Regions from separate parts of the Homo sapiens genome. Here all the other regions are linked to region 6. Evidence: promoter capture Hi-C in 16 types of primary human blood cells and fetal thymus (Javierre and others, 2016). All regions are on one chromosome and are shown on one strand. The core of a region is centred on a gene start or on the middle of the fragment in contact, and the rest is flanking DNA. Distances in the headings are between cores, read along the strand shown.

Region 1 (3,627 bases), core at 843-3,342, 2.7 Mb before region 6:
TTCATTATTTCCACATCTTGGATTTACTGGTTATGTCTTAGCTACTACTTTGCTTTTATTAAAGAATGATTAAATGTTTAAAACTGTTTTGAACTGTTACCATAATGAAAACCACCACTGGTATGTACTTAAATGATTCACAAAACAGGCCACTTGGCAAGTATCAAATCACTTATAAAGCTTGTCTGAAAATGCATTCATTTAGCCAATGGTTTCTATTACCTATTAGCTACTACATAAGTATAAAGTTTTTCCCAATATTTCATAATATAGGCTATAAAACATAAGGACAAAATTATTTTATAAAATAAAATTTTAAAATATCTTACTTGAAAACAGATCTCCAGCAAGCTATATAAGCCATCTATTCATTCCTTCCTGATTGAACATCAACTAGCTAGCTATGTGTCAGGCACTGTGCTAGTTGCTAAAAAAAAACAAAAAAAAAACATTGTATATAAGACAGACACTGTCCCTGCCTTATGGAGTTTACAATCTGACTAAAACAATTGATCACTCAAGTAACTGTATCATTGCAATTATGACACATTCAATGGAAGAAAAACATAGTGCTATGTGACTTTTAGTAGAAGGATCTAAAAATTTCAGCAAAGTCCCCTACTCTCCAAAAAATGACTAATGCAATGAGACATGAAGGATAAGAAAGAGTTGGTCAAGCAAACAATGGAGGGAAGAATATTCTAAGTAAAGGGAACAGTGGGAAGGGTAAGTCAGCCAAAGCCCAGTGAGAAAGAGCAAAGTAGTGGAAAATAACACAGAAAGGTTGGGAATTCTGCTTTTCTGGTTCTAGCATTACACAGTGCTCATGGTTGGTTACTTCTGACATACTTCATATTTGTTCTGTTTCTTCTATGCAATTGTGTAGTGGAGGAAATTTGGGCTTTGTTGTCAGTGACTGGCAAACCCAGATTCAAATCCTAACTTTGATACCTACACTACCCAAAAATACTTTGAAGAAATCACTTAAACTTTTAGAACCTAGTTTTCTCATCTATAAAATGGCAGTAACTATTTTTGACGACTAAAATTATTAAATAAAATAAAATATGAGGAGCCTAGCACAAATCCTGGCCCACAGAAAGCACAATCAAGTCTATTCTTTCCTCTTTCTAGGCTTAACTTTACGACAGTTTTTAATCATTAATGACATACTGCTGTAGTGAAGATAGGTACCTACAGATAGATAGTAAGGATCCTCTTCAAAAACAGTGCTTTTTTTTTCTAGCTAAATAACCATCATTATGTTATTAAATAGAAGCCAATTCTACCTATGTCACTCTAATTTCTTGATCTTGCAATTTCAACTGTTGGTATTACAATATAATTGTATTATTCATAGACAGCAAGAATAAATAAATAAAGTGGGTGAATGATTACATTTAAAGACATTTGTTCCTAAGTAGTAATTAGGAAAAGGCTATTAATTAAATAATTCCTCCAAGTCACCCCACGGGCATCTGATTAGCATTTTTAACTGAAGTTCTTCCCAGAGTTACTCTATAGTCTGCATGATGTTGTCATTGTAGAGAATGTAAATTAATGCTCTTTCTCTCTGAATAAAGCAATAATGTTAGCATAATAGTCCAACTGATATGAAAACAATATTGGGAATCTAGGTAGGACCAATATAGGTCTAGGTAGGACTATTATTTAGAAGACTAAATAATGATTTGGTACAGAAATTAGACAAATATAGTTTATTAAATTGACTTAAGACCTTTTTAGGCATATAGTTGCTTAAACGAAAGCAGGCCATATTCTTACAAATACAAAGCATTTTTATCTTTGTATCTTTGATTTTTAGAAATACTGACTATTGGAATGGGAAGAGAAATTAAAAGTAATTTAATTCACCTTGAAATGATGTTTACATTTTGTTTTTCTTTTATACATGCAAATGTACAGACACACACACACATACTCAAGTGGATGTGATTTTAAATTGAGGAACTCTGTATACATAAATGGTAAATATCAGTATTCCTTAATATAAATACAATAGTAATTATTTAGTAAATAATAGTCCAAGTCATAGCAATGAAGTTTCACTGCAATGTAAATTCCATATAAATAACCTGGTTAAATCCATTAGTTTCTTTCAAATGTGTTTGTCTATCATTATCATGGTAGACCCTACCGGCGACATGAACTGATTCTGGATAAGACATGTATGGAAGCCTACAGGGGAGCTTCTGGGAAAGTATTCCTTATTCTTAAAACACACACACACACACACACACACGCACACACAGACAGGGACCACTTTCATAGGCTTGCCTCTATGTATTATAATGTGAGGACACAATACTTCGAGACTCTGTAGCCATCTTGTGGCCATGGGAGTAAGTCTAAGGTTGAAAGTCAACACACTGACAATGTGAGAAAACAAAGTCTTCTTTAATTAATCCTATAACCACCCAATTTTCTCAATTTTGAATATACAGGGTATGAAATATTAAAAGTAGGTGGGTTTTCTGTTAAAGAATCCTTACCAATGACAATATTGGCCTCTTAAATTTCTTCTAGTTCTATGAGTTTTTCCCTCTGTTTAATGCTGTCCTTAGAACTCTGCTATCCTTTGATAATAGTCATCTGGAGATGACTCTAAATGGCCACAAATGCCAACTACTTTATGATGACTTTCCCATTTATATCTTCAGCCCTCACATCTATACCATGCTTTAAACTCATATTCCAACTGCTACTTGTCTCCAATAAACTTTTTAATAAGGACCTCAAACATACCATGTACAAAGCCAAATTCTTGATTCCCAACCCTAAACTTCCCCTACCCCCACTAAAAAAGACTTATACCTCACTTGGTCTATAAGACTCAGTTGTTCAAACACAAACTCTAGGGGTCATTCCTTAATTCCTTCCTTTCTCTTATACTCTATAGCCAACTCCTGTTATCTTTATCACCCAAGGGTATCTAAAATCTGTCTAGTGCTTTCTATCTCCACTGCTACCATCTTAATTCAAGCTATCATGTTTCTTGCCTGTGGATTAATCCAATAGCTTCCTAATCAGCCTCCTTGCTTTGGTTTTATAATTGTATACCTATTCTTTATACAGGAGACAGTAATCTTTGTAAGACACACATCACATCACAATCCACCCATGCTTGGAACTCTCTAGTAGCTTTGTATTTAGGGTAAAATCCAAACTACTGCCATGACCTAGAAAGTACATCATCAGGCCCTTCTGACCTTTCCGGCCTCACTGAGTTCTCCGATCTGCTCACAAGTTCAGTTTCCTCACCTGGCTCCAAACATGCTGCTCTTCCCTCTGATTCCTGAACAAAATGCAGTAGGTGTTTCCTCTGACTTTTATTTTGTATGGCTCATTTTTCTTGTCATGCAGGTATCAGTGAGTGAGTTCTTTGACTTTATGCACAAAATCTGCCCTTCCTCCATCACTCAGATTGTTTTCCATAACATTTATTACAATAAAATGAACATCCACTTGGTTATTTACAGATTGTCTGTCTGCCTTACTAGAGTGCATGCTCCACGACAGCAGATTTTCTGTTTTTCTTATTACGATATCCTTATAAGTTAGTCTTATTCCTATCATATTGTAGCCTTTCAATGAATAGTTCTTATG
Region 2 (4,175 bases), core at 325-2,824, 2.7 Mb before region 6:
CACTGGGGAAATGCCGAAGCAATGAAATGAACTTACTTCTTCTTTCTCAACGGGCTTCAAAATAAATCTGATGTAGCCATGTGAAAGAAGCAGTTGTAGGAAAGATTCCCCTTTTTTGTTTGGTATACATTCAATTTAAAGAGGAATAGTTTATTGCATCTGGGAAAAACTAGACAAATTTATAATGAATGTAGGAGAGTACAGACATATCAAATGCCTCCAACTGTTTAAGCTTAGAGGAAAATCATTAGTGTAAGGAATAATTACAGTCATGCAATAACTTGGATGAATCTCAAAACTTTATGCTGAGTGAAGAAAGCCAGACACAAAAGGTATGTATAACATAATTTCATTTGTATAAAATCTTAAGAACATTTTACAGAAAGAATATACATATATAAAGTGAGCAATAAGAATATCATTATCCCCTTTCAAAAAATATTAGAGGAACAAAACTACTCAGACTCACCTCATTCTATCTGGATGATTAGAAAGTCACAAATGAAAAATGACTATATCCTGAGAAGAGTATGTCCTATTTGGTATGGTATGTATAAAAATGAAACCTAAAGCAGTTCATAGACTCAAAATTGTTCATAGACTTAAAATTGGAGCAACTGGGCACACACCTCTGCTTTTCCCCTCATTCAAGCTTTCTAATCCCCAGGAAAGTAGATGCAATTTATCAGAAGATATAGCTATAATTTTATAATTTTAAAATTGAGTTTAAATGTATTTCTAACTGCAAGGGTCATTCAAAGACCATTAAAACAATGTGAAATCATTTAAAGACTTTAACTACATTAAATGTTTTCAAATAAGATATACACTATTTTTATTTTTTGCCTCTAGATATGAACTGACTAGTTTTTGAATGTTGGATTTGTAAAAAATTTTGTATATTGTTTAGTTTTTTTAGGTCTTTCATTAACATGTTTTATAGACAGTGATTCTAACATTTACACTGGTGCTATAAATATTACACATCAAATATCCCCCCTAAAATATCAAGGGTCAAACCCTAATTTTGTGAACTACACCACACAGCTTAGTGTGACAAATGGTTTCTGAAAAGAATAACCAGTATGAAGTGGGACTTTTACTTGAAAAGAAAAAGAAATTAGCTCCAGTTTTGGGCTACTATAAATAAAGCTGTTAAAAATATTCATGTGGCTCACGCCTGTAATCCCAGCACTTTGGGAGGCCGAGGCGGGTGGAACATGAGGTCAGGAGATCGAGACCATCCTGGCTAACAAGGTGAAACCCCGTCTCTACTAAAAAAATATAAAAAATTAGCCGGGCGCGGTGGCGGGCGCCTGTAGTCCCAGCTACTCGGGAGGCTGAGGCAGGAGAATGGTGTGAACCCAGGAAGCGGAGCTTGCAGTGAGCCGAGATTGCGCCACTGCAGTCCGCAGTCCGGCCTGGGCGACAGAGCGAGACTCCGTCTCAAAAAAAAAAAAATAATAAAAAGTTATTCATGTACAAGGCTGAGTACAGTGGCTCACGCCTGTACTCTCAGCATTTTGGGAGGCCAAGGTAGGAGGATCAGGAGTTGAAATCCAGCCTGGGCAACATAGCAAGATCTTAAAAAAAATTCATGTACAAATCTTTGTGAGGGCACATGCTTTCATTTCTTTTTGTAATATCTATTAGTGGAATTACTGGGTCGTATATTAAGGGTATGTTTAACTTCATAAGAAATTTCCAAACTCTTTGCCAAAATAATGTATCATTTTACACTTCTACCAACAATGTATGACGAGTTCCAGTTGCTTCATAACCTTACCAACATTTCATTATCGGCCTTCAAATTATAGCCCAGGAGGCCCGTCCAGTGGGAAAACAATGGAAACTATAATATATAAATTCAAATTTTCTAGTAGCCACAATTTAAAAAGAATAGTTGAAATTTATTTTAAAATTTTAATCAAATCTATTCAAAATATTATCATTTCAACATGTAATCAGAGTAAAAATTATGGATTTTTTTTTGCACTCTAGCTCCAAAATCTGATTTATATGTTTACAACACATCTCAATTGGGACTAGTCATATTTCAAGTATTCAATAGCTACACATTTTTAATAGCTGCTGTTTATATAGCTGATAACAGAGCTATAGACATTTCAGCGGGTATACAGTGGTAACTCATTGTGGTTTTAATTTGCATTTTCCTGATAACTAATGATGTTGAGTATATTTTCATGTGTTTTTTGGCCATCTGTATATATTCCATTGTAGTAGTATTCACACAGTATAATTGTAGTATATTCACACAATGAAAAGTACTCAGCAATAAGAAGAAATGAAGTCATGCAATAACTTGGATGAATGTCAAAACTTTATGCTGAGTGAAGAAAGCCACACACAAAAGATGTGTGTGATATAATTCCATTTGTATAAAGTCTTAGAAAAGGGAAAACAAATAAAGAAAGTAGATCGGTGGCTATAGTGGGGGTGTGTAAATGATTGCAAAACTGAAGGACAGAAGCTTTTCGGGTGATGGAAATGCTTTATATCTTGGAGAGGTGGTTACATGAATATATGTATTTGTTGAAACTTACTGAATTGCACATACAACATGAGTGAATTTTATGTAAAATATACTCCAATAAAATTGACTTAAAGAGTATAAACATTAGTGGTATCTACTACGTAATCTGTGAGGTCAGTGAAAAATAAAACCATGGGGTCTCTTTTTCAAAAGCTAAGAATTTCAAGACCGTAACAGCACAGTAAGCTTGTCTGTCATTGAATCCCCAGTGATAAGCAGAACAGTATATCTTATAGTAGGTCCTACTAAAGCTTTGTTGAATGATTTAAAAAACTTGAGCATCTTAGTGCCCAGCAATTTCCATTCAAGAGTAGCATAATATCCCTTCCCGCTTCTGCTATTTGTTCCCTAGACTGGAGGAAAGAGTATGATACTGGATACAATTTAAAAAACCATGCTTTTCCTAAATATGATAGAAACAAATACTCATTTAAAGTTCTTTTATTTTTAAATTCTTGGAAGGTATGAAGAAATACAACTCAAATAACTAGCATGAAGAGAAGATAGTTCGGTTCAGTAAGTAAAAATTATACAGGTATCATAAAATTCTTGTTCTTAGGGTATTCTACAGTGCAAGTTACAGGCTGACTTACAGTCACAGTGTTACACCTAGTATAGGCCAAAAAATGAGCTAGGTAATAGGGATAAAGAGGTAAACAAAACAGCTCCTTTTTTTTTTAGTGGTTTGTCTTCTTTAGAAATCGACTTATAGATAGATATCCCAGTTATCAACGTTTATAAGGACTCTCCCTAAATACATCTAATCTATATTGCCATAGACATTTCATTGGGATTTTGCTCCAGTGCTCCTTAACATAGCTCAGAATTATTATAACAGAGGTACTTGGACTTTATTTAAATGTATTATGAACTGAATGTGTCCCTCCTCCCCCACCCCATCGAAATTCCTGTGTTGAAGCCCTAACTCCCAGGGTAGCTGTATTTGCAGTAAGGATGGAATTAAGGTTAAGAGATCATAATCCTGATCTGATAGGATTAATGTCCCTACAGGAAGATGCCAGAGGCTCACTCACTTCCTCCCTCTCTCTGTGCGTGCACAAAGGAAAGGCCGTGTAGGATGCAGGCCATCTGCAAGCCAGAAGACAGTCCTCAACAGAAACTGAACCCTGCTGGATTTTGATCTGGAACTTCCACCTTCCAGAACTGTGAGAAAAAAATTTTCTGTTGTTTAAGCCACCCACTCAGATATTTTGTTATGGCAGCCTGAGCCGATTAATATGTAAAACATTCTATATAAAATATGAAACATTTGACTCAAATAAAGCGACTGGCTTAATCACAGTCACATAATCTTGTAGCATTCTAAGACTTATATGTGTATATACACAACATAATGGTATGAGCCCTAAAAATCTGAGTGATTCATACAGAAATTTTTCCTAAAGGAAATGTAAATTGATTTTACTTTATTACTGACCATCCTAAACCAAGGGGTATATATTTTCGAAAAACTTTCTGAAAAGGAAAACTGGGTTTTAAATGATCAAAGATACCATTTAAATTTAATATTTAAAATGCCTGCAAGGTGGCTAAGTGTCACTGTGACTCACACTAACAGTTTCATTTCATAAATGCAAGTGTGAAATGATGAGATAACAGC
Region 3 (4,091 bases), core at 495-2,994, 2.9 Mb before region 6:
ACCCCGTCTCTACTAAAAATACAAAAAAGTTAGCCAGGTGGGGTGGCGGGCGCCTGTAATCCCAGCTACTCAGGAGGCTGAGACAGGAAAATCACTTGAACCCGGGAGGCAGAGGTTGCAGTGAGCCAAGATCGCCCCATTGCACTCCAGCCTGGGCGACAAAGAACGAAACTCCGCCTAAAAAAACAAACAAAAAAAAATTTAGCCCTGAGCATCCTTAGGAAGTCTTACAATTTTCAGCTCTATTAATATTCTTCTTATTCCACAAGTTCAGTTTTTATTCATCCCCTTATTTGATCTTTCACATACCCATTTAACAAAAGTTTACTGATTGCCTGTCCTAGCCTAATGACACAGCCCTGGGCTCACAGCTCTGAAAACAGCACAAAAGGTTTATGTTCTCATATATAAATTTAATTATCTGCTTAACTTCATGTTATTTGATTATACTTTTAATCATTTCTTGAGCTAATTCATTGTTTTTGAAGAAGCAAAATATCTCTAACCATTTTATATTAAATACCAACACAAGCCAGCTTCTCATAAACTATTAAGTAAAAGAGATATTCAAGTCAGTTATTAAGAAAAACAATAGCAAGGAAAATATTAAGAAAATTAATGGCATATTATTCAAGCTGTAATGAGATACAAATTCACAGTTACTTTGGTGTTGGCCATTGTTTCTTATTTTAGCCATTCTGATAGGTGTATACTGATATTTTAATTTGATTTTCCTAATGCTTATGACGTTGGAAATCTTTTCACATCCGCTTTTCTCATTCAGTAAAGTATCTCTTCTTGACATTTGCCCATTTTCTTGTTTTTGTTTTACTGTCGAGTTTTGAGAGCTTTTGCATATTCTAGACACTAATCCTTCATCAGACATGTAGTTAGCAAATATTTTCTCCTAGTCAGTACCTTACCTTGTCATCCACTTAAAAGGGTTTTTCGCAGAGAAAAGGGTTTTTTTTTTTAATTTTATAAAGCTCAATTTATCAATTTTCCTTTTCTGGATCATACTTTTGGTGTCAAGTTTAACCCTAGATCTCAAAGATTTTCTCCTATTTTTTTTCCAAAATTTTATAGTTTTACATTTAAGTCCATGGTCCAATTTGAATTAATTTTTATACGAAGTATGAGACTTGCATCAGTGTTTGTCTATGGATGCCCATTTGCTCCAATATAGTTTGTTGAAAATGCTAGCTTTCATCCATCAAATTGCTTTTGCATCTTTGAAAAAAAATCTATCAGGCATAATTTTGAGGACCTGCTTCTGGGTTTTCTATCCTGTCCGCTGATCTATGTGTCTATCCCTCCACCAATAACACAGTCTCAATTACTGTAGAAATTCGGTAGACTGGTTCCTCCCAATTTATTCTTTTTCAAATAGTTTTAGCTACTCTAGTTTCTTTGACTTTCCATTTAAATATTAGAATAATCTTTATATATATACACACAAAAAATATTTCTGGAACTATAGGAGTTGCATTCAGCCTGTGTGTCAATTTTTGGAGAATTGACATCTTTACTATGTTGATTCTTCCAATCTATGAACATGGTATGTCTCACCAGTTATTTAGATCTTCTTTGATTTCTTTCATCAGTATTTGTAGTTTCTGTCTCCAAGTCCTATTTATGTTTTGATATATTTACACCTCAGTATTTCTTTCTCTTTTTTGGAGTAAATTTAAATGGTATTTTATTTTTAATTATGGCTTTTCTACATGTTTATTGCTGATGTATAGAAATAAAATAGATTTTTGTAGGCCTATCTTGAATCTTGCAACTTTGCTGAACTTACTTATCCATTCCAGGAATTTTTGTGTAGATTCCTTGGAATTTATACATGAACAATTATACCATCTTAAGGTAGGAACAGGTTTTTTTCTTCCTTTCCAACCAATATGCCTTTTAGTTCCCTTTCTTGTCTTACTCTACTGACTAGAACTTCTAGTACTATGTTGAATAATAAGAGCAGATACCCTTATCTTGTTGCCAATCCTAGGGGAAAATATTTAATCTTTCACTATTAAGTAAAATATTAACTGTGGAGTTTTTGTAGATGATCTTTAACAGATCGAGAACATTCCCCTTTATTTCTATTTGTTCTGAAAGTCTTTGTGATGAATGGGTGAATGTCCAGTGCTTTTTTCTGCATTGCTTGCTATAAGCGTAAGACTTTTTTCTCTACCATGCTAAAATGGTAGGTTGCATTAATTGATTTTCAAATATTGAGCTAGACTTGCCTTCTCTGAATAAATCCCATTTGTTCATGGTGTCTAATTCTTTTTAGCTGAATTATATTTGATAGTGTTTCATTGAGGATTTTTACATCTATGTTTATGAGGGATATTGGTCTATAGTTAGCTTTTTTCGGTTAGTAGCCATGGTTGAAATTTAAGCTGCATTCGCATCACCTGGAGGGCTTGTTCAATCTCAGTGTTCGTGATTTACATAAAATCAGTTAGAAATAATTTGCATTCATAAAAAGTTCCAGGTGACGCTGCACCTGGGTCTGGGTGGGGTCTGAGCTACTGCAATCCTAACAGCTCTCGTGTTCTGAGGCTGCTGATCCTGAAATCACACATAGCCCAGCAAAATTCTACAGCAGTGGCCCTCAAACTTTAGCATAAATGAATGATAGCATAAAATGAATTGAGAAGCATTTTCTTCTCTTCTAATTTCTGGATTACTTGATGTACAGTTGATGTTAATTCTTTTTTACATGTTTGCTAGAATTCCCAAGGAAAACCATCTGGGCTTGGATATTACTATCTTGGGAGTTTTTAAGTAATAAGATCAATTTTTTTAATAGTTACAGAGCTCTTTGAATTATATGTTTTATATTGGGTGAGTTGTAGTAATTTGTGTTTTTTTGAGTATTTGGCCCATTCATCTAAGGTGTCAAATTTGTGTGTGAAATCATTTCTTGTGGCCTCTACTAACATATGGGGAGAGTGAGTGGTCTTTCCACAAAAGGGAAGTCAGGAAAGTCCCAACACTCCTCTAGGCCTCCATCCAGGAGAGACAGAGGTGCCGGATTACTGCCAGGTGAGACTGAGAGTTCAAGATCCCCATGTGGTATCCACTGATACCATAGAGTGGGTGGGTCCTCATAAGTGCCTGGTAGTTATGAAAGTCTTGGCTCCCTACTTACCTTTCCCTAAGATGACCCTGAGAGCGGAGATGATGCACCTTGTCACATTCTGGTGAGGATAGAAGTCTAGATTCACATTTAACCCTTGTTATTGTGGATGAGGGTTGGGATCACAAAATTTCTGTGGTGTTTGGCTACGGTGCTGTTTTTTTCATCTAAGAGGGTTTTTAGGGTTTTATTGTTGTTGTTGTTTTGTCTTTCTGGGCTGCCCATTTCTTGGTCCTTTGGCTAGAGGAAGGAGGCTTTTATTGAGACTTCTGAAAATGTGTGCCTTTTGGTTTTTCTGGGCTGCCAGCTTCTTCAGCTCCAAGTCTGGGGTATATTAGGCAAAAAAGAAAATCCAAGGAACTTACTTCTCCATTATTTCTTGGGTCTTAAGATCTCCAGTAAGTCCACCTTCTTCTCTTCACCGTTCAGAGTCTCCTTATGCTTGTTTTATATGTAAGTCTGAGGTTTTAGTTGTAGTTAGTGGGAAGAGTAAAGAATAATACATCTAATCCATCTTCCCAAGAGCAGAATTCCTGAGTTTCTTTAAAAACAAAAATAAAAAAAAGTTAAACTGTAATTTTTTATAAAGAGTAATATGTGGAGTATATAAATTTTATAGCTCATATAAATCTATCAATAGATAGTAAATGCAAAGCTTCTCTGATTCCTTTACATAAGAATGATAACATATGATTAAACAGAGAATTTCTGGTTAATCTCAAATTATTTTTACTTACTTCAAAATTCTATAAATGTTGCTCCACCATTAGCATCTAATGTTCAACATTATGGAGAAAAAGATTGAGACCAGCCTGATCTCTCTACCTTGTCTTTCTAGATGCTCAGAGGATTCTTTGTTTACTATTGAAATTCAAACATTTCACTAGGATACGTTTAAGGTGTTGTTTTCCTGTTGACCAGTTTGTCTCATGTGCTGCCTTAGGAT
Region 4 (4,017 bases), core at 399-2,898, 2.9 Mb before region 6:
GCACATGCCAGCAATCCCAAAGCAAGCAGAATAAGGAAGTAAGACTTCAACCCCTCACCCCATTCCAGACACCCAAACAGATTCTATAGAAGAGAAGATTATGACATTTCACACATTAATTAGATCACTTCAATTTCATGGAGTTATTTCAGAGCGTCTGCTAGGTTCTGTGTAGCTGTAAAACAACCTTAAAAGGCTTATGGCATGCCAGACCAAAAGGAATGGATAGCGGGGACGGGTAGGGGAAGACCACAGTGAAAAGCATAAGCTATCTGATGCACCACTCTCCCTGGGTGCTCAAAATGTCAAAAAGGCTCATGTATAGTCTTGGGGAGACCTCCAAGAGAATAGATTTAGCATGCCCATATACTCAGATGTCATCATGGTACAGAAACAACTAGGAAGAAAATAGATGATCTTAAATACTGAATTTTTTTATCCCAGAAAAAGTGAACAATGCTTAAGGAACAATTAAAATTATTAGATCAGATTATATTTGAAATCAGATAGTATAAAAAGTTAATTTTTCTCAGAAGTGAGATGAGCTGTAAGCAAAATAAAAATAATGAGGATTTAAAATTTGTTGAAGTTTAAAATTTATAAATCTGTTAGAATTTGTTACATCAACACACTGAAATAAAAGCCAGTCTTCACTGACCAGTGGGAGTGTTTCCTATATTTACATATTAAGATCCAGTTCCCTTGAGGCTTTGATTGGCAGACTTAAAATTAAACCATAGTAGTCAATTGTAAAAGGCTTCTCTTTGTGAAATTTTCTCATAAAAGTGTACTTGTTAAGAACAAGGAGTCTGTGACCTCACTCCCTGGATTAAATGTTGAGTTCTGCCACTTACAAGCTGTGTAAACTTGGGGAAATTAATCTTTGTGTTTCCATTTTCTTGGTTTTAAAATCTGGATAAAATTAATATCTTTTCTTTTGCAAAGTCTTTCTACTCCTGCTATATCCTACCCTTTTAAGGTGGGCAGAATATGTGACTGCTTGATCAATGGCATATGGTAGAAAGGATTCTGTGTTTAGGAGACTGATAGCTTCCACTTTAACCCTCTGAGAGCATTTATTCTTGGAATCCAGCCACCATGCTGTAAGGTCTCAAGTAGCTCCATGGAGGCGCCATATGGAAAAGCACCAAGCCTCCAATCACAGACAGTGGCTGAGCTACCAGCCAATAGCCAATACTAACGGAACGGACAAGATGAGTGAGTTGTCTTAAAAGTTGAGACACCTTACCTGTCTTCACTTCAAACAGAGATGAGCTGACCCCACCAAACTATGCCTATATCACAGGTTTGTGAGCCAAATAAACTATTGTTGTTTTAAGCCACAGAGGTGTATACAGTTTGCTATTCAGCAATAGAGAACCAAAACAAAATTTGATACCTAGAATTTACAAATGCCTAAAACATGTGACACTAACTTTGTCACCAGGCAGCAGGTGGAAGCTCACAGGGTCTTGGGAGATTTGCTCATGAAAGCTAAAGTGGACTTTTCCTAACTTCAGATAATTGTGGACGTTGGAAGTCATGTTAGGACCATAATTTACCCCCAAGTTTTTGAAACATAGAAGCTCCAAGTAAAAATAGTTTAAGGAAGAGGAAAAGAGATCAATTACACTAGAATATAATCAGCTGCTTTGGGTCCAGTTTAAAGGGTTATAAAATGGGATCTGTCAAGAAAGTCTTAAAGTTCTAGAGATTAATTAACATTGAAATAGAAGTGGCTGAGATTTGCCAAATAACTCTAAATCACCCAGAGTTTTTCTCCTCTGACAGGACAATAAAACTCGTGCTTAAATAGCAGCAGGAATGCGACAGGATAAATTTAAAACACACTTGGCAATAGACTTAAACTTGTAAGTTCTGAAAAGGTAGCATAAATCTGTCACAGTTGCTCTGGGGGAAATCCTGACAAAATGTTCACAGACAAACTAGTTGACCTCGGTTTTCATTTGTGTGCTTTCAGCTGCAAGTAATCCTAACTCAAATTGCTTAAGCAGTGAAGCCATATATTACTGTGCCTAGCAGGGAAACCAAGACCACTGCAGGACTGACGGGCTCCCTGGCTCACTTACATCATCACGGATCCAGCTTCTTGGTACCTCTTGGTACTGCCCACATGTTATCAGTGAGAATTCATTCATGTGACTATACCCAGCCACAAGGCAGGCTGAGGAATATAGTCTCTGATTGATCAGCCATGTCTCTGGATGAAGTAAAAAATATATTTAGGGGAACAACAAGAGTCCGGAACAAAGAGTTTGTGGCAATAGCAAGCAACACTAAACTCAGCTTCTATTTGCTTTGCAGGCTATATGGGAATAGTGCTCACTGGTGTTAACTGGAGAGTCAAAAACAAAGGCAGTTGAGACTCTGATGAATCTTGATCCCCCAGAAAGTTGAATAGTAGATTTACGTTTTCGGTAGGCATAGTTGCTGGAATGAGAACACGGGACTCGTGCTCAGCTGGGAATCCTTCACATGGTAGTAGGTGGGCCCATAAATGCCAACATTCTCACATGTTCACTCAGCCTAATAATAAAAAAGCAGGGTGTTCCTGCTCTAAGCTCCTGTGACCTAGAGGATTCTCAGTTCCACATAGACTGCATTGACCAAATTTTAGGTGGATTTTGTTGAAGAACAAGAGAAGCAACCGGGAGCTATGTCTACTTTCTTTTTTCCTTACCTAGTTATTTGCACTGGTTGGGGTAGAACCTGAGAAATCACATAAGCCAAGAAAAAAAATGGCATTCTTGAAGCCATGAGCAGGCCTTGGTAACCTGGCCTCTCTCACCTGCACAATGCTCTCTATCCACTTCAGAGTCAGCATTACCCATTCTCAACTTGGAGTGAAATTACATGAGGCATTCAGTGAAAGAGATGAAGCTAACCTGGTCATGTCTAACACCTGCAAGAGGTCTTCACAGCCCAGCTTCTGAATGAGTTACCTTTCTATCTGAGAGCCACTACACCAAGCTGCTACTTTCCATTCCATCATTAAATAAAGCCTGTTTGGGATTATTTTATGTTTTGGATTAATTTTACTACCATTCCTTTCTAAGTCAATGGTTGAGTACACAATATGTAATGCAAGATGTTATCTACATCCAGAAATTTTAACAGCCATGGAAATTCAATGTGTATTTCCCAAAACACATAATGAAATGCCTTAAATTTTGAAAAGAAAAACTAGGGCCATATAACCACTTATCTCACCCCAACCATCTCCAAAAGAGCCATATCTAGCACCTCCTAATTGTTAATTTCTGTGCCTGGCCCTTATCAAAAACAATAGGAGGGAACCCAACTGATTATACATGCATTTACTATTATATCTTGGTTTGATTCCCAGGAAAGCCCCTTAAAAAAAAGCTGGTTATGTCACACACACACACACACACACACACACACACACACACACACACACACACAGAGAAAGAGAGAGAGAGAGAGAGAGAGAGTCACACATGTATAAACACACACATTTCATAGATGTCTCATCTTTAAACAGATTGACATCAAATTTCTTTTAAGACAATGGCAAACCCCTGAGGGTTTCAGTACTGAAGTGTGTGATATATAATGTCAGCCTAAGCAAATTAATTATTATACAACACTGAAATTTATACAGAGAAGTGAGGTGGCAGGGCAGCTGCACTGTAAAACTCCAGAGAATATTATGTATATCACAGAAACTGTGCAGAGCAAAACCTAAATAGCCATACAAGGCAGCCCCGCAGGTTTTTCCTTGCTCCCTCAAAACTTACAGCTATACATGACATAGGGATTTTCCACTGCTGCCCTTGTGGATGACAACTTGCCAGTATAAAAGGCAGACCCCCAACTTCCAAATGGCATCACTTTACATTTGATGCCGAAGTGAACACAGTTGAGCTTCCATCGCCTGTCGGAAATTAATCCCTCCTTGCCATGAACACTAGCTACTTCTAAATCTCCAGGACACTATCACAGATGGTTTAGACACAAGTGCCTCACATGCTT
Region 5 (4,159 bases), core at 22-2,521, 2.8 Mb before region 6:
ATACCATTAGAGAGACAGCTGGACCTGCATCCAGATGAGTTTGGATTCAAGGTGCCAGGAGATAAAGATCTGAAAGTGGGAAAGCTGAACTGCAATTGGGTTCATTTATAAAAGAGGCTGTTAAAGGTCAACTGTGTTTTCTTGTGCTAGAGATAAAGAGATGCTATTAAAAACAATTGGAAAGTAATTCATAAGGGAGCACTAAGTCACTCATGTTAAATTAATTTGTCTTTCTGATAGCATGGCATTCATGATGGGAAAGTAAATTTACCCCAAATCAAGATCTTTCAAAAACAGCCATTGATCATGTACTCCCTGCAAAGCCACTGGAATAAACCCCTGTGTGCCGGGACCACTGGTGCTGTGTGATCACAGCATCTCCATAGTTCACTGAAGCCCCTTCCCAGGCTGAGAATTAACCAATTATTCTGAAGGACAGCAAGTGCAGTGACATTTCTGTGGATATGCTGAGATGCCTGAGCCTGCTGATGTCTTTCTGTCGCCTCTGATGAACTAGTGGCCAAGCACCAGAACAACCCATCGTGCACAATTCCACTTTTCTGAAATTCAGCAATGTATTAGAACATTCTAGCCCACTGAGCTCCACTTACAACCCTCCCACCTCTCTGCCAGTACTACAACACACCCCATGTTCAAACATACACTTACCATGATGAAAACTTTTTAATTTATCCAAACAATATATTTACAATTATGAATGGCAGTTTAACTCCACATAGTGACATCAAACACTTTCTTTGATCATCTCCTCTTCAAGGTAAAGCTTTTCATTCAAACACTATCAACTGTTCTCCCCAGTTTCCTGATGGCAGCACATGTTATGACAAAGGGTGATTGCTTTTAGTGCTCAGAAATGCCAGCCTATTAAGACACATCTTCATCTTTCTCTGGGCAAGATAGAGATTGTGTCTATTTGCTGCCATGCATGGGGATGAGAGGGGAAAAATCCACTCCATCAGATTGTGATTCCTGTAGACATAACCCTGGGTATGACCAGGTTCTCTCTCTCTCTCTTTGTTGCCAGAGGAAAACTGCTTGTTGCTTCTTTTTCTTTCTTGAGATTGAAAACTAATTGGGGTCTTTCTTTATTTCCTAAAATCACGGGAATAATGAGCAATTCCCCACAAAGTTCTATTTATGAAAAGGTCTGCACTTCCAGGCATACACTAATTACAGCCCAGCATAGCGAGCTGCTCGCCATTTTCCCAGCATCAGTCAGGAGTGTCAGCCAAGGAGAGACAAAGAGAGTTACAGGCAGTTAACGTCTCCCATTTACCACTGCTGATCATTTGCAGGTTTTAATAACAGCTTTGCAATTCAGATTCTGCACCAAAAAGGATTTCCAGGTCAGATATCACAGGGTTTCTTCTGAGGCTGCCACCTTTGAAAAACTAGAGGCATGGACATGTTCAACATTAATTGCGCTAGAATTGATGCACCTTGCTCACGTTCAGACTTCACAAACATGACTTTAACAGCATGTGCTTTAGGCTGCAGTCAGTGGAGGGAACTCCAGAAATGCAAGAGGCAAGGTCATGAAGGCTCCCCTCCTTCAGTGGAAGCTAATGAGAAATAGCCCATCACAGAGGGGTCAAGGATACCAGCCACAACAACAGCTACCACTTACTGAGTGCCTGCTATACGTCATGGACTAGCCCACTTGTTTTACATACATTATCTCATTTAATTCCTAACACCACATTGGGAGATGGGAATTATTATTTTCATTCAAGCTTCCCTAAGATTAAATGCCTAGTAAACAGAGGAGATGGGATGCACTCATGCTCCTTGCTCTATGTTATGTGTCTGAAGTCATTTGTTGCGATCCAGAGTTTCCAATGAAACTATGATTTTAGAAATAACTAAAATGTTCGAAGTGCACCTTTTTTTGTTTTGTCTGCCCAAACTTCCTCTCATCTTAATTTAGCATCAGCACTCATGTCTTCTGGGGAATATTTCTTCCACCACATCCAACCAGCCGCAATGTCTTTACAGACCCTCCACTCCTCTGTCCTCACTGGATTCGTCCAGGGATGAACACCTCCCCGAGCAAGGTCACTTCCTAGGACCCCGCCCACCTCCCTAGCAACAACTGTTTGTGAGTGGGCATGTGAAAGAGTAATCATCATCATCACCATCATAACTAAAATATACTCGTGTTTTTATGTGCCAGACATTGTATATTTAACAACTTTTATTCTCACAACAATTCTATGCTGTTACCGTCCCCATTTTACAGAGGTAGAGAGAGAAATACAGATGGGTAGGTACCTCCCCCAAGGTCAGGTAGCTAGGAAGTCACAAACCTGAGACTTAGTTTGTATCAATTAACTATTGCCTCAAAAATTCTAGGTTTACAACTCAGCGGCTAAAAACAACAATCATTTATTTTCCCTGGTCTGGGTGTCACATGAGTGGCAGCTGGGCTCAGCTGTGCAGCTCTGATGATCTTGGCTGAGCTCGCTCATGCAATTAGGGTGAGCTGGGGGTCAGCATCTGCAGCCTGGACCAAGCTGGGTGGCTCTGCTCCACATGCCTCTTATCCCATCCTGGGACCTGAGAGCTGGCCTGGGCATGTCCTTCTCATGAAATAGCCAAAGAACAAAAGCAAGGCAGAAGCAGAAGAGGCCTTTGAGGCCGGACACTCTGCTATCTCCACTTCATCCAAACATGAAGTCAAGAGGTGGGAAATGTAGCCTATCTTCTGGGGAGAACTTACACAGTGAAAATCAAAGAATAAAGATTCAGGGAGAAATAAAGATTTGGGGCCAATGCCACAATCTACCTCATATCCCCTCTAATCCTACAGGAATTTCTCATCTCAAGCTGGGGAATTTTTCAGTTCCTGTGGGTAGCAAACATTATGAGATGTGAAGCTCTAAGCCTGTCAGCATCCACATTCCCCCGTGTGAGGAGGAAGACAGTCTGCCTTGGTACTGGAGAGCAATACAGAGACAAAAGACAGAAAGTCTCAGCATGTCCACAATCCTGGGACCAGCTGTCCTCCAGCCTCAGCCATGTCCCTGCCCTTCCTGTCATTGGGTTGCTCAAGCCTGCTTCTGAGGTCTTCACCCCAAACTCTTTCAAGTTAGTTTGATTTTCTGTCCCTTGTTACTCAAAAAGTCCTGGGCAACCCAATTCTCTGTAATGAATGAAACAAATAATAAACTTCACTAATTAATGTTACCATATGCAACACCCAACATGTATTTTGTGCATCTACTATTTGCAATGAATTACATTAGAAACTGGGGGTCACAAAGAATGGGTAAGATTGAACTCATTATCCCTGTCCTCAAAGAACTCATATTCTAGAAGACATAACACAGCCACAGCTTGCAACACTGCAAAATGGGCACAATTTGCTCCGAAAGGGAAGCACAGGAGAGGGTGGGATTAAAGTCTGATTTGGGCAGAAACAGGAATGCCTCGCAGAAGAGTTGGTGTGGGCTGTCAGATTCAAGAAGATGAATTTCTACAATCAGAGAAGAGAAAAGGGGTGGGTGGCAGTGAGAGGCTTTGGGTTGGGGGAGGATGGTGATGGCAATGGGCAAAGTCCCAGAGGTATACATCATTTGGTGATTGATAAGAAATATTAAAGAGGAAAGTTGGAAAGAAGAACTGTCAGTGTGCCTCTAAGAACTACGCAAGGGAGCAGGGCCTTGTTTAGTTGGCAGAATTGTTCTGCCCTCCTTAGCAGGCATTATGTCCCCAAAGCGCCACAGATTGTCAAAAGTGCCCCCTTGAGATTGTCCGACTCCTTTTATCCCGACATTGCACTTGCGAAGCAATCTTTTCATCATTATTTGGTTTCCCACATAGGCTGTCCTCTAGGGAAGAGAATGAGCTACCCAGCCTACAGTAAAACCCCAATCTTCTTGGCAGTTATTTCTTAGCATAAATTTTTAAAATTGACAGCCTAGTTTATAAAACAAACTCTTGGGAATACAGTGCATAGCCAGCACTCTTTATTTTACATGAACCCAACCTACGCTAAGCAAAGAGGTTGTCTGGAAAATGATCAGTTTGGCTTGCAAAGGAGGAATATCAGGAACCAGGGCTGCTTTGAGGCCTGCAGGCTAGGGAACCTAGCACTCCACATTCTGTTCTTGTCATTGTTTGGGGCTTTTCTATGTGT
Region 6 (4,052 bases), core at 736-3,235:
ATAAAATTAGACATCCCATGACTACGCGGGCAAGGTTAGGCTTGACAATCAAGCGGGGAAAGGGGGTCGTAGCGGGGAGTGGGGGACCAAAAAAAAAAGGGAGGGAGGGTACGAAAAATTGAAAAGCGAGTAAATCCAGCGCCTGAGACCAGCAAGCGCGCGGTCCGCAGCTGGGGAGGCGGGCGGGCGGACGAGAGGGAGGGTGAGGGGCTCCTTGCCCCCTGCGCTCCTCGGGTGCGAGTTCCCAGGCGGCGGAGCACACTGAGCCGCGTGCAGGCTGGTTCGGAGCCCAGGCTTCTCCGGCAGCGAGACCTGCCCTTGTGTTGGGTGGCCCGGCGGCTCGGACTAAAGGCGGCGGCTGGTTCTTCGCCAGCCCTGGCAGTGCTCACACACGTACACACCAGCAGAGAGAGATAGAGGGGAAAGATAAAGGGAGAGAGAGAGATTGAGCGAGGGGGGCGCGGTGAGAGGAAGAGGTAGGTAGAACTGACCGCGATTAGGTGCTAGGTACCTCAACACGTTCGGTGAAGTGGGGGTGGGGAAAGAGAATGCAATTTGCATACAGGAAAGCAGGGATCAGTTTACCCATTCGAACCCCTGGCGCACACAGAGATACCCACGAATGCTCACAGTCACATCTCTAGCACTACTTTTTTCGAGCCAAAGGGTACAGCCGGTCGCTAACTTCTAGAGAAGAAGCCTCCTCCGAGCTGTGAGGGTCACCTGCCAGGCTTGTTCTCTTTCCTAACCAGCGCCCCTCCCTGCCGTCCCTTCCTCGTGCCCACCACCCCGCTCCCAGGTGTACCCTCCGGGAACAGCGGAGGCAAAGGGTACGTACCGCACAGGACTTGGGGCGAATCCTGCGAGAAGGGACCGCTCTGGGCAGGCTCCATGGAGAAGCTACTCGGGCCTGGCGTCTCCAGCGCCCCGGACGTGCCCTCCCAGGCGCTCCGTCTCCATGCTCGAGCGCAGACGGGTCCGGCTGCCTCGTCCAGCTTTGGCGGAGTCGCCGTCCCAGTGCCCGGGTCGCGCTCAGGATTGGTTCGCGGGAGCCAAGGCTTGGCACAGTTGGATTCACGGTGCAGGAAACTTAAGAGGCAAGAGAGGGAGGGAGCAGTAGAGGAGGAAAGAGAGGAAGACAGAAAGGGAGGGAGAGCAAGAGGGAGGGAGAGAGGGGAATGCGCCGGGCTGCTGCACCGGACGGACTGGGACTGCCAGCGCTGGCACCCGGACGAACAGTCCAGGACTCTCGGCTTCCCACAGCTGCCTGAGGATGGTGGAAATGACTTAAGGGGAGGAGACTGAGCAAGTCCTCTGGACTTGAAGTGGAGAGATAAGACACTGGCCTTTCGGAAGAAAAGAGAACCACACGGCAGACGAGAGCAGTCCGAGTTTCTGAGGGAGGGGTGGGGTGGCGAGAATCTGGAGCCTGCGGCACACGGAGCAGCTGTACCTCTACCCGCGACGCTGGGAAGCCCAGGAGCCGGTCCCCAGTGGAGTCCCGGGCGCTGTCCCTGGTGCTGCCCGGCCACCCGGGGACGCTCTGGAGCGCTTTGGGTTTCCGGCGGCCGCGGTGGTCGTGGTTTCTCCGCAGAGCCGCGGCTTGGCACGCCTACCTTCCTGACACGGACAATTACTTTGGCACGTGGGTGAATGATTCCTCAAAGACTAATTAGTACCCTGTGTAAACAGATCCGGCTCTCAGGCTCTCGCGGGCTGGGCCCACAGGGACAAGTGGCTCCCGCGGTGTCTTCGGTGGCCGCAGCGCCCCCTTCCCGGGGGGCGTAGGGAAGATCGCAAAGCCCAGGGGAGTGGCGGGAAGAGCAGCCGGGAGTCGCGTAGGGCGGGGAAGGGCGCGGGAGGGTGCAGGGCGCCCCTGCCGGCCTCGAGCGCCGACGCCGGGCGCCTCCGACCTGTGGCTGCCGGGCCGGAGGCGGGGGAGCCGCAGACTGCCAGCCATTCAGCTCGAGACAGCCGAGAGGACTGGGCGACCTTGGCCTCTGGACTCCTCGCCGCCGGCTGGGCTGAGCGTGAAGGGGGAGGAGGAGGACGGGGGATGCTTCGAGCCGTCACCACCTCCCTCGCTACTGACACCTCCCACTCAACCAGCGTCTCCCAGACTCGGCCTCTGTGCTCCGACTCTGGCTGTCTCTGTCTTTCTCAGTCTCTCCCTTACTGTCCCTATTTCTCAGTATCTTTCTCACTCCCTCTCTCTCTCTGTCTCCTTCTTCTGTCATTCTTGTGGTCTGCGTCTCTGTCCCTCAGCATCTTTCTGCCTTTTTCTGCCTTTCTGTGTGTCTCACTCAGGATTTCTGACTCTAGGTCTCTGTATCTCTGTGCCTCTACCGTGTCCCTGCCATTCCCCCTCAAACCCTGTTTTGTTTTTTGTTTTTTTTCCTCCACCCTTCCAGTGCACCACCACCAGAGCAGTTTCACCAGTCTCGGGAGACAGCCAGGACCAGCTTCTTCTGGTGCTGGTGGGGTTGCCAGTGCTCCTTGAGCTTGCCCAAATTCAGGGCACAAATCGGAACCCGGAAGAGGGTATCTCTTCCCCAACCTTGCCCATTGCATCTCCAAGCCTGCCCTTCACCAGAGCCTCTCCTGGGGTGATGCACATATCCATATCAATCTGTAGGAATTGTATGGAAATTTATCTCAGGAACCTGAGTTAGTGACATCAAAATCGAATTGTGATATTTAATGAGTCTGGAATGTCCTTTCCTCAAGTGTGGCTGTGGACACTCTGGCAGGTCTGGGCCTAGATACAATGTACACTCTAGACAATAGGTCCCAGGCTGAATTCCCCTGGATGATGGAGACCACCCCTCAAACAAGGCAGTGACAATCAGCAGAGCCACCCAGTCCTGCAGCAGAGGCAAGAGGAGCCCCACTGAGACCTTCCCCTGGAATCAGATCTCCAAAGACCTCCAAATTAGATCCCCACTGTAGAACATACCTACCAGCACTTTGAGGTCTACACTCTCCCTTCCAGCTAAAAATAACTCTTTAAAGAGCAAGCTCTTCTAATCTTAAAAGTTGTACTCTGCTGCTGTGACCTCCTGGAATTCATTGGGGCATATGCAGAATAAAGCAGTGAAGCACACCTTCTAACTGTGTCTCTGAAAATCCACTTCAGAAAAAACGCACATGTACATATAGCATAATTACAATGTTTTCTTGACTATTTTCACTTACCAGCTATTTCATTTTCTTAAAAACTTTAAACTTTAAAGAAGAAAAATTAAAGTATTGGGGCACCCGTATCTGAGGCCAAATGGTCAAAGCAGGGGCAAAAAAAGCTTTGTCTAATTCCATCCTCTAGGATTCATAAGGCTATCCTAAAATTGATTCCTATTTGTACAGGAGCTCCCAGGCCTCCCAGACTGGAGTGTAGAGCTGGAGCAAATGTTGCCTGCCTCTATCTGGATTCCCAGCTACAATGCTGTCAGAGCTGAACTTCTGTCTGACCTTTGGGAAAATGAGAAAGAATCCGGCTAGCTTTGGAATATACCAAGTTCTTTTCTAAACCTTACTTTAAAAACATTCTGCTTCTAGTGCCATTTAGCCTTAAAAAAATACTGCTTGTGAAATAGAAAGATGATCAGAGACCTTAAAATGTCTGTCTGAATGGGACTGATTATTTAAGAAAAGCACCACAGGCACCTAGTAATGGGAACAGGTTTGACACTTTGTTCTATGACACAGGATGCCAAAGAGCTTTTTCTGTTAATGACCTGAGATCTTCTGCCCAGACATTCAACCTTCGCTGGATCCTATGAGATACTTGGCCTGTGATATAAAACAGTGGCGGATTGTCATTTTTCATATTTCACAGGGGTCTTCATCTCCTATAATACTCAACCAGAAAAGGATACCGAGCCACCAAGTAACACAGAAAAATGTATCGTTTCTGCTAAACCACTCCAGTTTTAATAATATAATATTGGGGGAGAAGTGGACAAGAATGGTTCATTCACCCTCCTTTTTTCCTATCATTTGCTTTATAAAGAACAATGGAGCAATAAAAGCATGATTTTCTTACATTCTTCTGT
Region 7 (4,071 bases), core at 1,500-3,999, 2.8 Mb before region 6:
TAGAAAAAGGTAACAGAGACAAATCCCTGCTACCAGTGAGACCTGGGAATTTTTAAGAAAAGTGTTGTCACGTATTGAAATTCTGCTGTATTGCTGGGTTCCCGGTATGTTACTCTCATCGTGTACATATCTGTTAGACACAGCAGTATTATGTGAAAGATGGTCTGAGGAGTGAGAGGAGTGTGTGAAGCTTTCTGTGTGAAGCTTTCTGGAAATAGCAGCAAGGAGACCAATTGTCAGGAGACAACAGAGCAGCAAGCTGTGGCATGGGACAGCTCAGGAAAGGACATAACTCAAATGCCACCCTCCCCAAATCTACCAGAGTCTAGATGCAACCCTTAGATGAGCAGGGATTTCCAGGTGGCAGCTCTGTGTGTTCCAACACTGTGTGAAGCAAGTACTCTGTGTCATGTAGTTTATATCATCACTTCAAGGTAGGTATTATTATGGTTCTCTACCTGGGGATGAGAAAACAGAGCCATGAAGAGAGAATTAAGTAACTAATCCAAGGTCACTTGGCAATGAACTGACAGAAGGAGCAGAGAATCAGAGCCCAGGAAGGTCTGACCCTCATCTTGCATCTATCCACCAAGACTCTCTCCCTCTCCCTAACACCCATGAATATTGAGGGATTCCTCTATGCCTGACTTAGTGCCATTTGAAACTTACTGTCTAATGGCAGAGCCACCACATGCAGAGTATAAAGTCATCATTCCACTTTACTTTAGCAAATGAAAACATCCCCATGTGTCACCAGCATCCAGTGACCAGTCTGTAAATCTATGAGGATAGGGTCATGTCCCTTTTCTATCCATGTCTCCCCATCAGCTATTTTCCCCATGACAAAAGCTGTGCTCCAAATTACTTATTGAATAAAAGACTAGCACATAAAGGAAAAGTTTAATCTCACCATTTTAAACTGAATATCCATGCCTTATCTTCTCTCCTTGATCAGCTCTAGAAGAGGAATTTCACATTAAATGTAACTGATAAAGTTCACTTTAAAATAGGCTTTTCTTGACTTAAAATATTAATACAAAGTAATCCATGCTGTTATAGAAAAATTAGAAAATTCAGATAAGCAAAGAGAAAAAAATGAAACTATCCATAATCCCAGGGCCTAGAGATAAATTGTTACTAATGCTTTGACATGGAGTGCTATTCACCGTGAATAATGCTGTGTGAACTGATGCCCTGTTTGAAGATCCATCAGGCATACACAGAGATTTGAACTGACACCACCGATGTCATCATCATCATCACAACTGTGCAGACTGATACTATGCCTTTCAGGAGAAGATTTTGGAATAACCACAGGAAACAAACAGTGACAATAGCAGCTTAAAAATGTCTGTAAACAGAACATGTTTTCTGGTTCTTTCTCTACAAAGTTTTCGGAAGTTATAAAAGCCCCTTTTGGACTGACTAAACCTATAGCTTTCATAAACATTTTAGAAGAAAGAGGGACTCTCCCACCAGCCTCATCCCCACCAAAGATGTACTGCATTTGCTGCTAATTTAATCATAGAAGTGATCAAATCAGACTGTATTTGAAAAATAAGAGCTGTGTTTTATTTGTACTTCAGGCTGGACTCATAACATAAATTATACTACAAGGATGACTGTAATACATCTTTGCAATTTAGCTGGCTTAACTTATATATTGATATGTCCCAAGCGTATAGAGGGTACCTGGTTCATAGCAAATAATTAACTCATTTGAAAAAGTTCTTGGAAGGGGAACTGCTACCCCTAAAGGCTCAGCTTTAATGCTTAAATTCATATTGTCAAAATACTCAAAATGAGACCTGAAATCAGTGGTAAGGTCCTTGTAGGTGAATGGCTCCAATTTACTTCTCTAATCCTCAATTTTATTTTTTCTCTCATTGGGTCCCTGAGGCTCCACTCACCATCAATAGATAAACAACTATAAAGATATTTAGGAGGTCTCCCAGCTAACTGTTTAAGAAATTATTTTCAAGGACTTCTATAGCTATTTCATTTTAATAGCTACTGCGTCAGGTACTCTACACTCATTATCTCATTATCTGATCCTGACAACTGAATGTTGTTATTATGTCTACTTTACAGACTAGGAGCTGAGGCTCAGAGAGAGTAAATGACTTGCTTAAATTTATATAGCCACAAAGTAGCAGAGTCTAGATTAAAATGCTAGTATACGTTATTTTAAAACCCATCCTCTTGATGAAAAATTCTGGAGACCTATTGTTTAGCGTGGTGACTATCATTAATGGCAATGGACTGTATACTTGAAATTTGCTAGGAGACTAGATCTTAAAAAAATAAGTATGTGAGGTGATGGATATGTTCTTTAGCTTGATTCAATTGTTTCTCAATGTAAACATATATCAAAATATCACATTGTATGCTGTAAATATATGCAATATTTATTTGTCAACTCTACCTTAATAAAACTGGCAGCGGGAAGGGAAGACATCCTTTCAACTGCTACCTGCCACATTTGACAAGGGACTTGTAAAACACAGATGCCTTCAAATGAAGGGAACGGAAATTTGAACTTCTACCATGCTCTGATTTTTATCAGATGCTAAATTGTGTCCCTTGATCACAGTGACTCCCTACAAGGCGGACCTTCAAACAGTAACCTAAAGGGAAGAGGCTCAACTGACGCCCTGCAGTTTATCAACAGCAAGCAGGAGAGCATTCCACCAGGTGACAAGGATGCTCTGAGAACTGGGGGCACAGAAACAGTCTCTGAACTTCCCAAGTATAACATGACAATTTTTGGAGAAATATTATTTTTTCCTACCAAAATATTAAACTGCTAAAATGATTGTAAATTCCAGCTTGACCCTAGGGTGTTTAGTGACATTTGTGAAGCAAGAAGTTTCAAATAAAAAGAAAATTAAGTCTGACTACACTACAGCCTTTTTTGTAGAAAAAAAAAAACTTATTCAATCATGTAATTGGTAATTAATATTTGGATGGGTTAAAAAAACACTGTTCAATTTTAAGGATAGCTTTATTTACTGATTGAGAAAAATGAAGTTACATTCTGGAATATAAACTAAATATATTTTCTATACAGTAGCTTGAAGCATAAATAGAGATAGTATGGCATAAATCCCATACAACAAAGTTTTTGTATAAACTTCTTGTTCTCCTCACTGAATAATCCTGCTGCTTCTTTTTCTGCTCAAGTTATGTGGCTCTCTTCTGGGAAATTCAGTTTGCTTGGGTCAGGTCAGCTGCAGTTTGAACTTTTTTGTAAGAGTCCACAGTCAGTTTCTACATATGATCTTGTTCTGTTTGCTTTATGCCTTTTTCTTCCTGCCTTAATGCTCTGCATGTCTGCCCAATAATTACATATTCCCCTAAACAGAAAAAAAACTTCTGCAATGCTAGACATAAGTTCCATTTTTTCATTTGAGCCCTCAGTGCTATAATTTTCTATAAAGTCTTCCCAGTTTAAGAACTAGCTAGTTAAGTAATTAGTTAACAATATTGAATATAAAGGCTCAGATACTTTTGATATATTATTTCTGTTATCAATATGAGCTGTCCTTTTTTGCACTTTTAGTGATTTTCATCTTGAATTTATTGTATCTATCATCTCAATTACTATACATGCTTTCTTTTTATAAACAGTTGCCTCATACATAAATATCTACTTTTCTGGAAACTTCTGAGACTAAGTTTTTAAGTCTGCAAATCTGTTGTTTAATAAACTTAATATATTATCATGTACTGCAATTACTAATATGTTTAGATTTATTCCTCTCTTATTTTGTGCATCCAATTTTCCATGATTCTTTTTAATTGTCTATCTTCTGTTGGATTGCTCTAGATACTGTAGTCTGGCTCACTGAACTCTGATTCCATCCCTCCTCTAGCTTGCCTTCCTGTTCTATAGAGTTTGTCACCCTGGAAATTGTGTTCCCAACCTCCCAGAAGCTGGATATTTACATGGGACCTTAGCTCTACCAAGCAGATGCTCCCACATGAGGCTCAGGACAGCAATGTGCAATCACAAGGGAAGGCCAAGTGCAAAGAGGTGATGTTTGGGCAAGCACAATGAAAGGGGTACCA

Evidence for each region. Contacts are between HindIII fragments. The CHiCAGO score rates a contact against its expected background, and 5 or more counts as called.
Region 1: a contact is called between a fragment that was not itself captured here and the fragment with the promoter of NXPH1 in region 6, in 1 of 17 cell types (endothelial precursors). The highest score is 5.8, in endothelial precursors.
Region 2: a fragment that was not itself captured here is called in contact with the fragment with the promoter of NXPH1 in region 6 in 6 of 17 cell types (total CD8 T cells, total B cells, naive B cells and 3 more); the score reaches 8.7 in total CD8 T cells.
Region 3: a contact is called between a fragment that was not itself captured here and the fragment with the promoter of NXPH1 in region 6, in 10 of 17 cell types (total B cells, naive B cells, M2 macrophages and 7 more). The highest score is 22.2, in total B cells.
Region 4: a fragment that was not itself captured here is called in contact with the fragment with the promoter of NXPH1 in region 6 in 3 of 17 cell types (naive CD8 T cells, total CD4 T cells and total B cells); the score reaches 7.9 in naive CD8 T cells.
Region 5: a contact is called between a fragment that was not itself captured here and the fragment with the promoter of NXPH1 in region 6, in 10 of 17 cell types (naive CD4 T cells, naive B cells, total CD4 T cells and 7 more). The highest score is 20.2, in naive CD4 T cells.
Region 7: a contact is called between a fragment that was not itself captured here and the fragment with the promoter of NXPH1 in region 6, in 11 of 17 cell types (total B cells, activated CD4 T cells, total CD8 T cells and 8 more). The highest score is 26.8, in total B cells.

The regions. Positions count from the first base shown.
Region 1 is chr7:11,152,585-11,156,211 of GRCh38, reverse strand. The region is part of intron 17 of PHF14 (PHD finger protein 14); the gene reads right to left. Among named protein-coding and RNA genes, the nearest start is that of PHF14, 180 kb to the right of the region's middle. The HindIII fragment of the contact is 3,820 bases long and covers 183-3,627 here.
Region 2 is chr7:11,171,406-11,175,580 of GRCh38, reverse strand. No RefSeq gene overlaps it. Among named protein-coding and RNA genes, the nearest start is that of PHF14, 200 kb to the right of the region's middle. The HindIII fragment of the contact is 1,839 bases long and covers 655-2,493 here.
Region 3 is chr7:11,321,844-11,325,934 of GRCh38, reverse strand. No RefSeq gene overlaps it. Among named protein-coding and RNA genes, the nearest start is that of PHF14, 350 kb to the right of the region's middle. The HindIII fragment of the contact is 4,116 bases long and covers 1-3,802 here.
Region 4 is chr7:11,353,644-11,357,660 of GRCh38, reverse strand. No RefSeq gene overlaps it. Among named protein-coding and RNA genes, the nearest start is that of PHF14, 380 kb to the right of the region's middle. The HindIII fragment of the contact is 8,274 bases long and covers 1-4,017 here.
Region 5 is chr7:11,202,234-11,206,392 of GRCh38, reverse strand. No RefSeq gene overlaps it. Among named protein-coding and RNA genes, the nearest start is that of PHF14, 230 kb to the right of the region's middle. The HindIII fragment of the contact is 970 bases long and covers 787-1,756 here.
Region 6 is chr7:8,431,542-8,435,593 of GRCh38, reverse strand. NXPH1 (neurexophilin 1) reads right to left here and starts at 1,985. Exons shown (of 3, transcript NM_152745.3): 1 at 839-1,985. RefSeq lists enhancers at 1-325, 326-873, 874-1,421. The HindIII fragment of the contact is 6,580 bases long and covers 1-3,301 here.
Region 7 is chr7:11,223,904-11,227,974 of GRCh38, reverse strand. No RefSeq gene overlaps it. Among named protein-coding and RNA genes, the nearest start is that of PHF14, 250 kb to the right of the region's middle. The HindIII fragment of the contact is 5,086 bases long and covers 207-4,071 here.